2 separate regions of the Homo sapiens genome follow, and region 2 is linked to region 1. The links are contacts of gene promoters, found by promoter capture Hi-C in blood cells and fetal thymus (Javierre and others, 2016). All regions are on one chromosome and are shown on one strand. The core of a region is centred on a gene start or on the middle of the fragment in contact, and the rest is flanking DNA. Distances in the headings are between cores, read along the strand shown.

Evidence for each region. Contacts are between HindIII fragments. The CHiCAGO score rates a contact against its expected background, and 5 or more counts as called.
Region 2: a fragment that was not itself captured here is called in contact with the fragment with the promoter of MYO16-AS2 in region 1 in 3 of 17 cell types (fetal thymus, M0 macrophages and megakaryocytes); the score reaches 6.3 in fetal thymus.

What each region holds. Positions count from the first base shown.
Region 1 is chr13:109,097,048-109,104,734 of GRCh38, reverse strand. MYO16-AS2 (MYO16 antisense RNA 2) reads left to right here and starts at 2,777. Exons shown (of 3, transcript NR_046538.1): 1 at 2,777-3,192; 2 at 3,378-3,537; 3 at 3,926-4,180. It overlaps MYO16 (myosin XVI), which reads right to left. Exons shown (of 35, transcript NM_001198950.3): 28 at 3,848-3,950. RefSeq lists an enhancer at 3,086-4,285. The HindIII fragment of the contact is 392 bases long and covers 2,584-2,975 here.
Region 2 is chr13:110,098,188-110,105,874 of GRCh38, reverse strand. All of the region lies in intron 1 of LINC03082 (long intergenic non-protein coding RNA 3082), which reads left to right. Among named protein-coding and RNA genes, the nearest start is that of LINC03032, 20 kb to the left of the region's middle. The HindIII fragment of the contact is 3,651 bases long and covers 1,635-5,285 here.

The DNA of each region.
Region 1 (7,687 bases), core at 1,528-4,027:
GCTGCGAAGGTGCAGCGATGCTCCTTTGACATGCATTTCCACCAGCACCGCCTATGAGTTGCCCCCACCCCTGTCCTTTCCTCTGGATGGCCTGAGTCACATCTAGGTCTTAACCCTCAGAATTAGAATTGACATCAAATGCTTCCTGAGACTCTTCACTTGATTCCAGTTCTTCTCCTTCTCTATCGTCTCCTTTCCTTACTCCTCCTTTTCCTTCTCCTCTTGTTTCCAAGATGTAGTTGGGAATGAGGGTGCAAAGGCATTGTGCTATTTCAGGGTCAGTTTGATTGACAGTTTGGGTTGAAAAGGATTCTGATCAGAGTCACCCTGTAATGGGAAGTAGTCTGCTTGTTTTTCCTTCATTTGCTGGGTGAATTATAAACATAAAAAAGACACTGTACAAGGGGCAGGCTGCTCAGATGAATAAACGGTATAAGTGCCTTTGATCAAAGCTTGTACTGTGATGCATAATCTACCCCTTCCAAGTCCTGTAATATGAGCAAAATGACTTCAGATAGTTATATTAGAAGATACAGATTGAGTTAAATGCAGTGGAAAGAACATGACATAGGAAAAGCTAGACGTTGGTCTCAGCAAAGTGGCACTCCCACTGAAACTGAATATTAACTGCACCTAGTATTTTGATCAGTACACTGATCTCTAATTAAGACAAGGGCTCTCTGTGACGTTCCATTACCTCAAATCTAAAATAAGGTCACTCCTGTACGTGCTGTCTACTTTCCTTTTCTGCATAGAGTTATTAGGCTCAAATAAAATAAAATAAAAACTATGAATAGTTGTAATATACTCTGTAGATGAGAGGAATTATTTTTTATTAAATACTAAAAATTCCAGTACCTCATGTGCGACTACAAACCTGTGACTACCTAAAGCATGAAAAGCAGACACAGGTGCATAGATCGGCATACAAAAGTAATAGTACTGAAGATACCACATCTCTATCCTCATCTGAAACAGAAGGAAATCAAATGTGCACCAAGGCTTACTGAATTGCTACAATGTTGGAGAGTATAAGAATTACAGAGTTACCATCTCATATTGATGATTCAAGGCTTTCCTTCTACAGGGTCTGATTAAAGTTAAAGAGAGAAGAGAAAACCTGCCAGATCTCCAAGACGCATTAGAATGACAACGAAATTACTATTTTCAGTTAAAAGAAATGAATTTCTAGCTAACACTGTATACCACTTAACACAGCAAAATATAATTCTAATCACTTCTGTCCTCCAGCACTGCTTTTAAAAATATGGAAAAGAGTAACCATTCATTTCATGCTAACCACTCAGGACTAAAGGATGAACTGACTGGTTAATGAAAACACACATTATAACTCTTAGCAATTTGGAAATAATGCTACAGATAGAATAACCATCCGATACAACCTTGTTGTCCCTGCAGCCTAACAGCTTCTGATTGAATCCCTGTATTAATTAAAAACAGAATTGACTAGGAGGAATTCTTTCTGTAATTAGCAACACATATCTAAAAAATGCTTTGCTTTTGAAACTGAGGAGTCTAACTTTCCAGGTTAGGAATGAGTGTTTTTTGTTTTATTTATTTATTTTTTAACAAAATCTTTTTTTCCTTTGTCAGACCAATATAAAAGTGAAGTATGAATATGCTTCATTTCTGTGAAGTTGATTATTTGTCTGGTAGTATAAAGTATATCATAGGTTACATCGTGAAGAAGCTGAAGAAATACTGTCTTTTCTGACTAGACAACAGGGAACTCATAAGCAAATATACTCAGTGAATGAGCACATTTATTTCTCTTTCCTTTTAATTTTTTTGTCTTGTGTTTTCAGCTTCTTTTAGGCAGGTGAAAAGTGTGGAGAAAATAGATTAGTGCCATGAAATGGGATCCCTTTCCCATTTAAAATAAATTTTAATGCTCTTGTTGAAAGTCCCAATGTATGTTTCAATTTAATGCTATCCTCAGCTGCAATCCTAGCAAAAGCACCAATATAGAAGAAATGATGGCTGGCAGGGCTTACCAATTTGTCTTCTGGTCTCCTCTCATATTTGACCTGTACTTTACAGTGGTCTATCAGAGGGACCACTGCTCAGATATTGTGGTTACTGCCAATCACTCTCTTAGTGAAATAATTATTACAGATTCCCTTGCTTTCTTCTACAAATAAAAATTCTCCCTCTCTCTCTCCCTCATACACATACATCTATCTCACAGATATATATATATATATACACACACACACACATATACATATATACACATACATATACATATATGTATATCATTATCTGTAAGTAGTCTTTAAAAGCAAAATAATACAATAAGAATATCTTAGTGTTACATCATCCGTGGACTACTACTATATAATTACTTATTCAAAATCTCAGTAATGATTCCATTGAACTGACTTCAGTTACCTATAGACAGAATAAATGCTGATATATGTGAATCCCACCCCTATGTCACTGACTCTGGAGGGGTTGGCAGACATCACTTTTGGTTAGTAATTCCTCCTTCTTCCTCCTTCCCTTTTTATCCAATCTTTTGGCACTGATGTGCATCACTGACAACTTCAGACTGAGTAAGCTTCCTCCTTCAGATTGTTATTTAAAGTTCAAATTTCATTATTAGTTAAAAAAAAAAGAAAAGGAAAAAAGATAACAAAGAAAAAGATTGGGTGGCACAGACAATTAAATCATTACTCATCAATGCCAAAATTCTAGGTTCTTTGTTCTTTGTCATAGACAGATGAGTGTGCGAGTGTCAATCCAGTCTTCCCTCCCTGTTTTACTTAGACTGGGCCACTTTTGGACCTATTCAGCAATTCTGAATCATCAGCTCATGTCATTTCTAAAGCCAAGTCCCCATCCTTTGACTCATCAATTATCATATATTTTTACTCATAGATATTCTCCCTATCACTTTTTAAAGATGCAATTTATGTCTACTTTCCAGTAATCGTCATATTTTTATCAAAGCTTTTAGCTACCATTTGTTTTTGCCACCTATGCACTTTTGGTGGTTTTACAGCAAGAAACTTCCAAATAATTTCTGGTGTCATGGACTGCGTGGTTTCCCATTGTTGCTCTAATCTGCCCTTCTCACTTCAAACCTCTACTTCCTAAAATGAGTCAAGGATGGACTCTGATGTTGTTGAAGGTATTTACAAAATCTGGAACCATCTTCTCCTGTTTCTGGTAAACATTTGCCTGTAATTTTGTCTCAGGTTATTTTCTTTTTCTGCAAGTCTAGCTGTAGCTTTCATTGGCCCCTAGGGTCTACCATTCAAATGGATCACAGACTATAATAAAGTGTTTCCAATTATGAAGCTTTTGCCAACAAATGGGCTTCAAAGGATGGTGACATTTTCACTGTATGGCAGGTGAGAAGCAGGGCAAAGAGAAACAGAAAAAAAGGGGAGCTGACTGAGACGTGAACGAGCTGGGGAAGTCCAGGTTGAACATGCACTTATGAGAGACCAACTCTGCACAAAGAAATCAACCTTAGTTCTTCAATTTTGGCTCCTCTGACTCCTGCTATGGGTAAATATGACAAAATGCTTTACTGACAAGGTATGAATCTGACACACGGGCAAACAGAATGGGGCTCATAAGCTTCTGTCATGTTGTAAAGGGAGCCTGTTAGATTTCCTCTCATGTTGGCTGCAAGATGTTAAAATCGGTAAGTCATAAAGAATGACAAATTTCCAGGGAATACACTTAATGTCACGCCTTGCCAAACACATCAAAGGAATTTGTTTTTGCCAGGAAGATTCTGGTGGCTCCCTGCAATGACTCAGCTCATTTATTTAAAATCCTAAAATGTTATTTTCATAGCTTGTAGGTCACCAACCTGCCAGCCTTGTAATTTACACTGCTGGAGAACAAGTCGACATCGCTCGGCAGCTGACTGTTCCTTCTTCTCACGCAGGAATGTATCAGCCAGTGGCTTATACCTGTGAAAAGCAGCAGAGACAGAAAGCAATGACTGCATTTGCCAAGCACATGATCACATTCAACAGGGCTGTCTTTGTTACATCGTTTCCCAAAAGTTTCCCCGTCTTTCTTTATCCCAGGAACAGCCAAATACCTGTCCATTGTGCATTTACTAGGGAACTGGAAAGAATCCTTATCTTTTATAAGGGAAATGGTTTTTACAACGCGTCAAATATATTTTTCAGTCCTCTAATATATGTTTAGCACTGTCATGAAGCACTTCAAACCATTTAACCAAAGGAAATTTGAAAGGAATGAAAATTAATCCAGTAGCCATTTTTAAACATTTGGCATGCTCTTTAAAAACATACCTCTTAAGAAATTTGAGCATTCTTTATGGCCACTTAAGCGTGAATTCAGATGTAACTAGAGTCCATAATAATGGAATACCAAAACGTCCATTCAGAATACTTATTTGAGAGGTAGAATCGCTTCTTCCCCATATATTATATATCGAATATTTCAAATATTCTGGGACATTTTTATTTTGTAAAGTATCAGTGAGCAATTGACTTTCATTCCCTAGCTGAAATTCATGGCAATATAATAGTTTCCTACAGGTTTTTCAAAAATGACTTTTAAAATTACATCATCCATTTAAAAAAAATCTATGTAAAATTCCCTTTGCACTTACAGTGGTTAACCTGAGATACAGGCAAGGTTGCAATGGAGGAGGAGGAAGAGGAGAAAACCAGAAAGGAAATGAGCAAAGATCTATGCAGTTGCATCCTGTTGCCTTCTGTGTTTATGATTCTCATGTTCGGCTGTTCCGCAAGCCGAAGGAAACGCAATGCCAAAGCTGAAGTCATCAGTTTTCTGTTATTTTCTGTTTAATACCTTAGTGTTTCATCTAAAGTTCACTGCAGTAAATTTGGTATCTTCTAAAATGAGTTTATTCAGTTTCCTTAGTGCAATTAAGGGAGGGAGTGTTTTGCCTACACATCTTTATTTACTTGCTTTCCTCAGAGCAAGTAGTGGGAGTATGGGACATGTCTCATGGACAGCCACATGGGAATCACACGTGTGTCTTATTTTGGCAGGTACTGTGGGTAAACGAGGGCTCACATGTGCGGCAGTACAGTCTGGTGTGTAACATAGGCTGGGAAACACACCTGCCATGGATAGAATGTATCTCAAGGTCCCTACGTTCAAATCCTAACCCCCAATATGATGATATTAAGAGGTGGGGCCTTTGACAGGTGATTAAGTCATGAGGGTGGAGCTTTCATGAATGGGATTAGTGCGCTTAGAGGAGGCTGAAGAGAACAGACTTATTCCTTCCTATTAGGTCAGTGTAAATGTAATTGTGGTTTTCGCATTGTTGAAATTTGCCGTTTGATATTGGAATACATTCTTAAATAAATGTGGTTATGCTATACATCATGTTAGTGTGCATTTCTTGCTTTATGTTTTTTGCGAATGACTTATTACTTGCTGTTTATTTTATATTTATTTTAGCCTATGAGAATAATGTTAGATAAAAAGCAAATTTGAGCGATTTTCTTATTTGGGTTCCAAATGGGTCACAAAAGAGCAGAGGCAACTCACAACACCAACAATGCATTTGGCTCAGGAGCTGCTAATGAACATACAGTGCAGTGGTGGTTCAAGACGTTTTGCTAAAGAGACGAGAGCCTTGAAGATGAGGAGTGCAGTGGCTGACCATTGGAAGTTGACAATGACCAACTGAGAGCAGTCATCGAAGCTGATCGTCTTACAACTACATGAGAAGTTGCCAAAGAACTCAAGGTCGAACATTCTAGGGTCGTTTGACATTTGAAGAAAATTGGAATGGTGAAAAAGCTTGATAAGTGGGTGACTCATGAACTAAGTGAGAATTAAAAAAATGTAGTTTCAAAGTATTATTTTCTCTTATTCTATGCAACAACAATGAACCGTTTCTGGATCAGATTATGATGTATGACAAAAGTGGATTTTATATGACAACCAGTGATGACCAGCTCAGTGGTTGGACCAAGAAGCAGCTCCAAAGCACTTCCTAAAGCCAAATTTGCACCAAAAAAGAGGTCATGTCACTGTTTGATGATCTGCTGCTGGTCTGATCCACTACAGCTTTCTGAATCCCAGCGAAACCATTACATCTGAGAAGTATGCTCAGCAAATCGATGAGATGCACGGAAAACTACAACGCCTGCAGCCGGTATTGGTCAACAGGAAGGGCCCAATTCTTCTCCATGACAACGCCCAACAACACGTCACACAACCAAAGTGGAAAGACTTGGGCTATGAAGTTTTGCCTCATCCACCATATTCACCTGACCCCTTGCCAACCATCTACCACCTCTTTAAGCACCTCGACAACTTTTTGCAGGGAAAATGCTTCTGCAAGTGGCGGGATGCAGAAAATGCTATCCAAGAGTTTGTCGATTCTCAAAGCACAGAATTTTACACTACAGGGATAAACAAAACTTACTTCTCATTGGCAAAAATGTGTTCATTGTAATGGTTCCTATTTTGATTAATAAAGATGTGTTTGATTCTAGTTATAATGATTTAATATTCACGCCTGAACCGCAATTACTTTTGCACTAACCTAACACCATGTGAGAACACAGTTCATAGAGAGAACAAGAAGGTTCTCTCTCCAAACCAGGAGGCGAGCTTCCACTGAATACTGAATTTGCTGACAATTTGATCTCGGACTTTCCACCCTCCAGGACTATGAGAACTTTCTGTTGCTCATGAGCCACACAGTCTATGGTAATTTGGGAAAGCAGATTGAACTGACCAAGACAGTACCCAGTTACCTTCTCAGCTGAAGACATTTCTTATTTCCTTTCTTAAATCCTCAGCATTCTCACTGAAAAGTCAGTGTATGACTTTTCCTGGATTGAGAATCCTCATCATCTTGCTAGCCAAAAACCAGAATGAATTTATCAGTATCAGCAACCACCCTTTCTTCTCATAGATGGATTTTTGCTCATGTTTCAAACTTAGTGTATAGGAAAGCATAAAAATACAAAAAATGGTAAGTAACAGAGACTGAGGCTGAAGTAACTGAGACTGAATTTGCAGTGCCAGAGGCAAGGATATGAAAAAGGTGGCTCATTATTTTACTCACACTAAATGGACTTCAGTGATTTGTTGATGGGTGAAGTATTCAGGAATTGTTTTGCTTTTGATAGGTGACAAGAATGTGATTTCTTACACGCCGTGTACTGAAGTTGGTAGCTGTGTGTTTTATTTTATTTTACTTTATTAATTTTTATTGGGGTTTCTGCAGAAGAAGAAAGGGAATTTCCCCTGTACAACAGAGCAGGGCAAATGGGTATGATGGGGGATATGTAGAGGGTTGGGAACCGGGAGTAAGCTGTGCAAAGGGCAGTGCATGTGGACCACCCAGAAGGTTATGGGCATCCCCTAATGATTCTCTCACATGATATCAGTACCTCAGTGAACAGAGTTTCACTCTTGTTGCCCAGGCTGGAGTGCAATGGTGTGATCTCGGCTGACCGCAACCTCTGCCTCCTGGGTTCAAACAATTTTCCTGCCTCAGCCTCCTGAGTAGATGGGATTAATGGTGCCCGCCACCACGCCCAACTAATTTCTGTATTTTTAGTAGAGACAGGGTTTCACATGTTGGCCAGGCTAGTCTCGAACTGCTGACCTCAGGTGATCCACCCGCCTTGGCCTCCCAAAGTGCTGGGATTACAGGTGTGAGCCACTGTGCCCAGCT
Region 2 (7,687 bases), core at 2,211-4,710, 1.0 Mb before region 1:
CAGAATGAACTCTTTCATGTTCTAGTTAAGTTTCTTCAGAAAAGTCAAAACTTCTTCCAACCTCACCCACTGCACCTCTAAAATGGGATAATAATGACATTCCCTCACACGGATGCCATGAGGCTGCAATGCATGGAAAGATGTGGAGTTGCTATTCCAAAGTTATTTATCACTAAAGTCATTCAAGCTCTGTTTTATTCCCAAGAAATAGGTAGGAGAGTTAAAGACATCTTGACTTTGTAGAATGAATGAGACCACATGTGCTGAAGTCCTTCAAAGTTTGTCAAGCTTTCACCATGTGAGGCACCACGATGGTTACTAAGGAGACACTGAGCAAGGGCCATAGATGTGGCTTCCAGTGTAGGTCTTGAAAAGGACATGACTTGTCCATGAACCTGGACTTGAATTCTGGCCCTCATTCCTCTCAATTAAGTGTCGCCGTGAGTGGCTGGGCCACTTTTGCACGGAGTTACTTTCGGTCAGCTGCCTCTGCCTGCCCTTGCTAAGTTCTCAAGAGAGCAAATGTCACAGCAGTCTGTGCCCTGGGAACAGGGAATGGGCCTCACACTGTCCCTCCCACCACATGGCCCCTGTCTTGTGCTTTAAAATATGACATCTAAAAAATGCAAACCTGCCAGTACACAGTGGAGTCTAATCTCATGATGTCAGAATGCTTGGCAGGCCTTGAGATATCGTTGAAGATAAAGCCGAAGGGGGCACTATGGGAAGTGCTCCTGCCATACTGTGGGGAGAGACTTTTTCTAAAATAACATAGGAACTGTTTGTCAGGGATGGAAGAGTTTGGTGGTGGTGGTTGTGGTCATGTCTTGGACACCATAAAAAAGGTGGGAGGAAAAATCTGCAGAGGACCTGCTGAGACACCGTGGGAAGCAGCCTGCATGGGGGCTGCCCTCTGGGAAGGAGCAGGCTGTGTCGGGCAAGTTGCTAGCTCCAGGGCCTGGGCACGAGGCTGTGCAACATGGGCCGGATTGGACTGCTCCTCACGGGACCAGCTTCTCGCTCACCTGGCAAGGCCCAGGCAGAGAAGCCTGAGGTGGGCTCCCACAATCACAGACCCAGTGCATTTGGAAACAAACAAACAAAAAACAAAACGCCAGCTCTGGCTCCCAGATATGGATGAGATGTTACTGTCCTCCTCCCACAGGCAGGTGCAGGGCTTAATCCAGGTGTTCTCAGACAGCGGTCCCTGCACCAGCAGCATCACCATCACCACCATCACCTGGGCTCTTGTTACAGGTGCAGATTCTGGGGCCCCATCCTGCACCTTGTGAATTAGCAACTCTGGGCTAAGCCCCAGCAATCTGCGTTTAGCAAGCCTGTCAGGAGACGCTGACGCCAGCTCAATTTGGAAGCTCTGGGCTTATTTAAACATAAGTCTGAAGATATACATACACATATTTAAAGTTATAAGGGGTTAAAAATAAACTGCTTTTTTCTAGTTATTCATTTTCTAGGAATTTATTGCCTTTCTAGAGATTTATTCTATGGATACACTCATATAAGTATGTAAAGATGTGGGCATGAGTTCTATTAGAAGTGAAAGTAATATAAAGGTTTATCAATAAAGCAATGGTTAAATAAGCTGTGTTGTATATACGATGGAAACCCAAGCTTCCTAAGTCTACATCTAAGTATTAAGATAATAAGGTAGGTTTATAGATACTCATCTATACACATGACTAAGATATGTTGTTAAAGGAAAAAAAAAACAAGTTGTAGAACTGTATACAGAATGTAATCCCCTAGTGTTTGTAAAAGGAGGCCACACACACACACACACACAAGCATATTAGTTTGTGTCTGGAAAATACACAACATGAGCTTGTATTAATCTAATAATATTACAACTACCCCATGATAAGAAACAAAAGTCAAAAAATTAAACGGAGAAAGAGTCTCCAGCATTTCTCTGGGCACTGCGCTTCCTCAAGCACCCCACTCTCTGGTCTGTTATTACCATCATCCTCCTCACACCAATACATAAACCCACTTCCTCATGACTGTCCTCCGTGCAAACCATGATAGAAGGTTTCCTGATCCTTGAAGGCATTAAATAGCCCTCATCACCTTTATTTCCAGACTAAATAGTTTAATTTCATCATCTAATTTCTCCTTAAAAACCTTAGTCATCTCCTTAGTTTTCTTGTGGAACTGTCTGTAGTTGTGCCAATTTAGAGATGTCAGGCTGAGGCATAATTAACTTCCCCGGATAGGTTCATGTTCTTAGGGTAGCTATGAATCAATGGTTAATCATGATTGCAGTGCTCAAGGTAATCATTGGCTGAGGTAGATATTCAATTGACAGGTAAAACAGGAGAACATTTTTTTTTTACCTTAAAAAAAGTGTGGTGTGAATAAAGAAATGAAAAGCATTTAGAGAGAGAGGTGAATGTTAAGGTTTTCAATAATCAGCTCTTGCCCACGAGCCTTGGCTGAGACAGGGCTTGACAGAGCCTCTGTACAGGGTTGATGTCCTGCGCCTGTGAGCCTGCACCCCAGGAGATCAAAGGTTCTGCAATGGGGAGCTCACGCTGATAAGATATTAAGACCATCTGTGAATCACTGATGTGGTCGGATTGCAAAGTATCAGCAAGGACAGCTGCCTCCACAAAGGAGCATGGATTCCCCAGGCTTTCCAGAGCCTTCTAAAAGACCTGCAGAAGAGAAACTAAAAGCACTGCTCTCTGCTCCAGTTGGGAGTGACAAGCCGCATGGGCAAGCATGAGTGCTTGCATGTACCTCTGTGTCCGAGACTGAGTGGAAGGGAGAAATTGAAGGGAACTCAGCCATGAGTAGATGTGAAGAAAGCACAGTTAGCATGCCAAATCTGAGTGCTTTCTTTCCTTTCACCATTCTTTCTGAAGTTCTTTCGTCACAAAAGATGTATTTACTCATTTTATTTGGGGAAAAGAGAAATATGGAGATAGGAGTTAGTTTCCGTGGAATTGTGCAAACCAGGTACAATTTTCATTTGGGTCCCGACTGTGTTGCAGGTAGCTTGGCAGATGCCCCAATGTAATAAAATCTGAATGCGGTTCTTCAACTTGGAATTCAGTGTTATAAGAATGAAAGAATTGTGAAGTATTGAAGCACAGCATGGGTGAATCATATGATGGCATAATGGCGGCTTGTAAACTGCTTTAGGCACACAGAGAAGGGGTAATCCAGGTATAAGCCCAACTTCCCTTGGGATTGGCAAAATTTCCTAGCATAGCTGAAGTAGTGGCTTATTCTTAGTGTTGGCCTGTTCTTTCTCCGAACTTTGCACTATCCTTTTATCATTTCTGCACTTAGTTTCTGTGTTAGTTATCTACTGCTACAAAAACAAATTTACTCCCAAGTTAGCAGTTTAAGCAACAACCAGTTATTGTCTCACATTTTCTATGGGTTAGGAATCTGGTAGAGGCTTAGCTGGGTGGCTCTGGCTCAGGGTCTTCCATGAGTCAAGGTGTTAGCCAAGGTTGCAGTCATCTGAAGGCTCCACCATGGCTATCACCCACGGCTATTGGCAGGAGGCCTCAGCTCTTTGCCACATGGGCCTTTCTGCAGGGCTACTTGAGCTTCCTCATGACATGGCAGGTGGCTTCTTCCAGAGCAAGCAATCTGAAAAGGGGAGGAAGCAGGGAGCCAAAGATCTTTTAATCCTATCTCAGAAGTCACACATCAGCACCTCCACCACATTCTAATTGTCAGAAGTGAATCTCGAAGTGCCTTGCACACGGAAGGGGAGGGAGCTGGGCTCCCCCTGTGAAGGGAGGGGTCCTGAAGAATTGGTGGACATAGTTTAAAACCACGGCAGCTTCCATGAGGTGGTCACACTCACTTAGTTGTTTGTGCATCCATTTATTCATCTCCCTATTTATCCAACACATTTCCATAAGTGCCTGCCAGATCCACAGCACAATGCCAAGTGCTAGGTAAGGGATGGGTGAGGCAAATAAAAAGGTAGTCCTGCTTCTCCCTCATCTGTCACCAACCCCGCATGCAGTGTTTAGGAAGATATAAGCAAGAGTAGTAGTTTAAAAAATATTTTAATATCTGCATGAGAATTTCTTAGAGGGATGGCGATGGTGTTGGTCTATGTTTCATTGAGGAACTATGTGGACAGTCACTTTCAGAGGGAAAGTAGGCTCCTGAGGGCCTCCTACATGCATGCTCCCCAGGAGCTGAAGCTGCTCTTCATGGAGGCGATCAGGTTCGAGTGCAATGCTGCAGAAGGCAGGCCGCTCACTGCCAAGGAAGGCACTCAGGTGAGCTTCAAAGGGCGCCTGGCCACAGGGAATTCTCACATTCAGCCCAAGCTGTCTGTGTTGCTATGATATCACCTTCTTCCCTATTTCCTGAAAACTTCCAGCTCACAGTGCCTTGTGTGAGAGAGTCCTCAAACTGTTGATCAGATTTGGGATCCCAGTGGAGGCTGGTGACCCTGAACTTTTGGAGATCCTGTCTGCTCTGTGCAGTGGATTGAATGTTTGAATCTTCCCTAACATTTGTATCTTGATCTTAACCTCCACGGTGATGGTATTATAAATAGTAAGTGGGGCCTTTGGGAGGTGATTAGGTCATGAGAATGGGCCCTGATGAATGGGATTAGTGACTTTATTAGACGGACCCCCAGAGAGCTCTTGCCCTCTTTTTACTATGTGAGGATTCAAGGTGAAGTTGGCCTTCTAGGACCCAGAAAAGAGACCTCACCAAAACTTGACCAAACTGGCATCTGAAATTTGGTTTTCCAGCCTTCTAAACCATGAGAAATAAATTTCTGTTGACGATAAGCCACCCAGTCTGTGGCAATTTGTTACAACATCTCAAATTAGCAAAGTCACTTTGGCACATTTTATAGTATAAAGTGAGGGTAGGCAAGGACTGAGCTGGTTGAGGTTTGTGAAGCAGGTGGGACAGGCACACAACCACACAAGGGAGGTGGGTCATCGTCAAGGAGATGGGGGTGGGGCATGTTGGGACACGGGCTCCAAGGAAAGCAGGACTCCAGATAGGCTACTTGATGGGGAGACAGTAGAGCAGGCAGTGGGTGGGACATTCAGAGAACACTGTAGAACTAGGAACAATGAAGGCAATGACGTGAGAGAACAGGAAATTACAATCAGAGATGGAAGTTTTAATTTGTGATATCACAGATTCAACATTCCTGGGTGGTCCAGGGTCTTCAGTATGGCCACGAAGTCAAAAGCTGAAAAGGAGCAGAGGTTAAGGTGATTAGGGATGAGGAGTTCACGTGGTTGAGAGGTGTTGGACACCAAGCTTGTGAGGGAGTTGAATCACTCAAGAGCCCAGCAGCACCCGAGGTGGAGACCACATCTGGTTCAGCACAGTGAGGGTCCACTGCCGGTGCTTTGGTGAGCAAAGGGAATAAGGGGGTAATGGATGAAAAATAGTGGTTGCATGGTGTCAAGGCCACATGGACTTTCCTCAGAGGCTGGAGGAGGAGGAGGTGTGAAGACATCATCTCCATATCCAGACTGGGGTCCCATGGTGTGAGGAAAAGGAGCAGACTTCTCCTGTCAGGGCTTTGGGACAGCTGGTTCTTCAGGGAGACAAGTCCTAGGGAACCCAGGCTGAGATCATGGGGAAGGTTGTGTTCATAGAATAGGAGCACCCAAGAGAACCATGGAAATGGTTGGAGATGCCAAAGGGAGCATTTTCTAGAATGGTCTTGAGTTGGGTACACAGAAGACATGGATAGCTCTGGCTTATGTCTGGTGTAACATCTGAAGAATAAAGTGTCCATCCACAGTGGGGGTGGTGGTGGTGGAGGTGCATCTTGTGGAGGACGGAGTGGGCCTGACAGTAGAAACACAGGTCTTCAACACTGGAGGGAAACTTGTTTGTCAATGGATTCAATTAAACCCAAACTTTCAAGTCAATTTATTGAAGTATGGTTGACATACACTAAAATTCACTCTTTTGAAGTGCAGAGATTGATGAGTTTTGATAAATGCGTATCTTGCATAACAACTACCACAATTGAGGTAGGAAAGTTTTCCATCATTTCCAACATTTCCCTCATGCAGTCAATTGCCCCCCTGACCCTCAGTGCCTGGTGGCTACTGACCAGATTTCCTTCACCCTAGTTTTGTGTTTTCTAGAGTGGTATAGAAATGTAACCATGCAATATGGTGTCCTTTGTGCTGGCTTCTTTTACTTCACATGATGTGTTTGATTTGCAGCCACCTGGTTCTGAGATTGTAGTCCTTTCCTTTTCATTTCTGAGCAGGATTCTGTGAAATGGACATACCACAGCATGTATAGGAATTCACCCATGAATGGATATTTGAATTGTTTTCTGTTTTGAGCTGTTATGAATAAATCTGGTATAAATATTTACATATGGGCCTTTGAATAGAAATAGGCTTTTCTTTCTCTTGGACAAATACCTAGAAGTGGGATTGCTGGGTCAAACATTAAGTGTAGTTTTTACTTTTAATAAAGTGCCAAAATATTTTTCGGAGTGGTTGTACCATTTTGCATATCCACCAGCAATGTGTGAGAGTTCCAGTTCCTCCACATTCATATCAACACTTGACATGGTCAATCTTCTACATTTTATACATTCTAGTAAATGTGTAGTGTTATTTCATGTAGTTTAGTATGCATTTCCTGAGTGACTAAATGTATTAAGCATATTTTAATGCATTTATTTGCCATCTTATTTGGTGAAGTGTATCTTCAAATCTTTTGCTCATTAAAAAATGACTTTTCCTTTCCTCCAACCCCTTCTCCCATCCTCCACCTCCTCCTCCTCTTCTTTTTTCTTTTTCTTGAATTACAAGGGTTTTTCATATATTCTTAGATACAAGTTCTTTATCAGATATGTAATTTTGCAAATATTTTCTCCCAGTCTGTAATTTGTCTTTTCATTTTCTTAATACCATCTTTTGGAGAGTATAAGTTTTTCAGCTTGATAAAGTTAAATATTTATTTTTTAAAATGTGTTTTTGCTTTTTGTGTCCTAAGAAGTCCTTGCCTATCTCAAGGCCAAATATATTTTTCCCCTATGGGTTTTCTTTCATATCCTTACTGTGTTGGTCAGGGCTTTCCTGAGGAACAGAACCAGTAGGAGATTATACCTATACCTATACCTATACCTATACCTGTCTTTATCTATGTTTATATCTGTATCATCTATATCTATATCCATACTATACATATATCTATATCATCTATATATATCTATATCTATATCTATCTCTATGTGTATATCTATGTCTAATCTATGTCTATGTTATAAGGAATTGACTTGTGTGATTATGGAGGCTAAGTCCCAAGATCTGAAGTTTGTGAGCTGCAGACCTCGAAGAGTTGATGACATGCTTCCAGTCCAAGTCCAAAGACCTGAGAACCAGGAGAGCCAATGGTGTTGTTCTAGTCCAAAGGCAGGGAAAAAAAACCCCAGCATCATAGTTCAAACGCAGCCAGGCAGGAGGAGCATTCTCTTATTTGGGGAGGGTAATCCTTTTTGCTATATTCAGGCCTTCCATTGTTTGGATGAGGCCCACTGCATTAGGCAGAGCCATCTGCCTTACTGAGCCCACTGATTTAAATGTTAAGCTCTTCCAAAAACGCCCTCATAAAAACACCCAGAATAGTATTTGACCAAACATCTGGAACCTCATGGCCCAGTCAAGTTGACACACAAAAATAATCA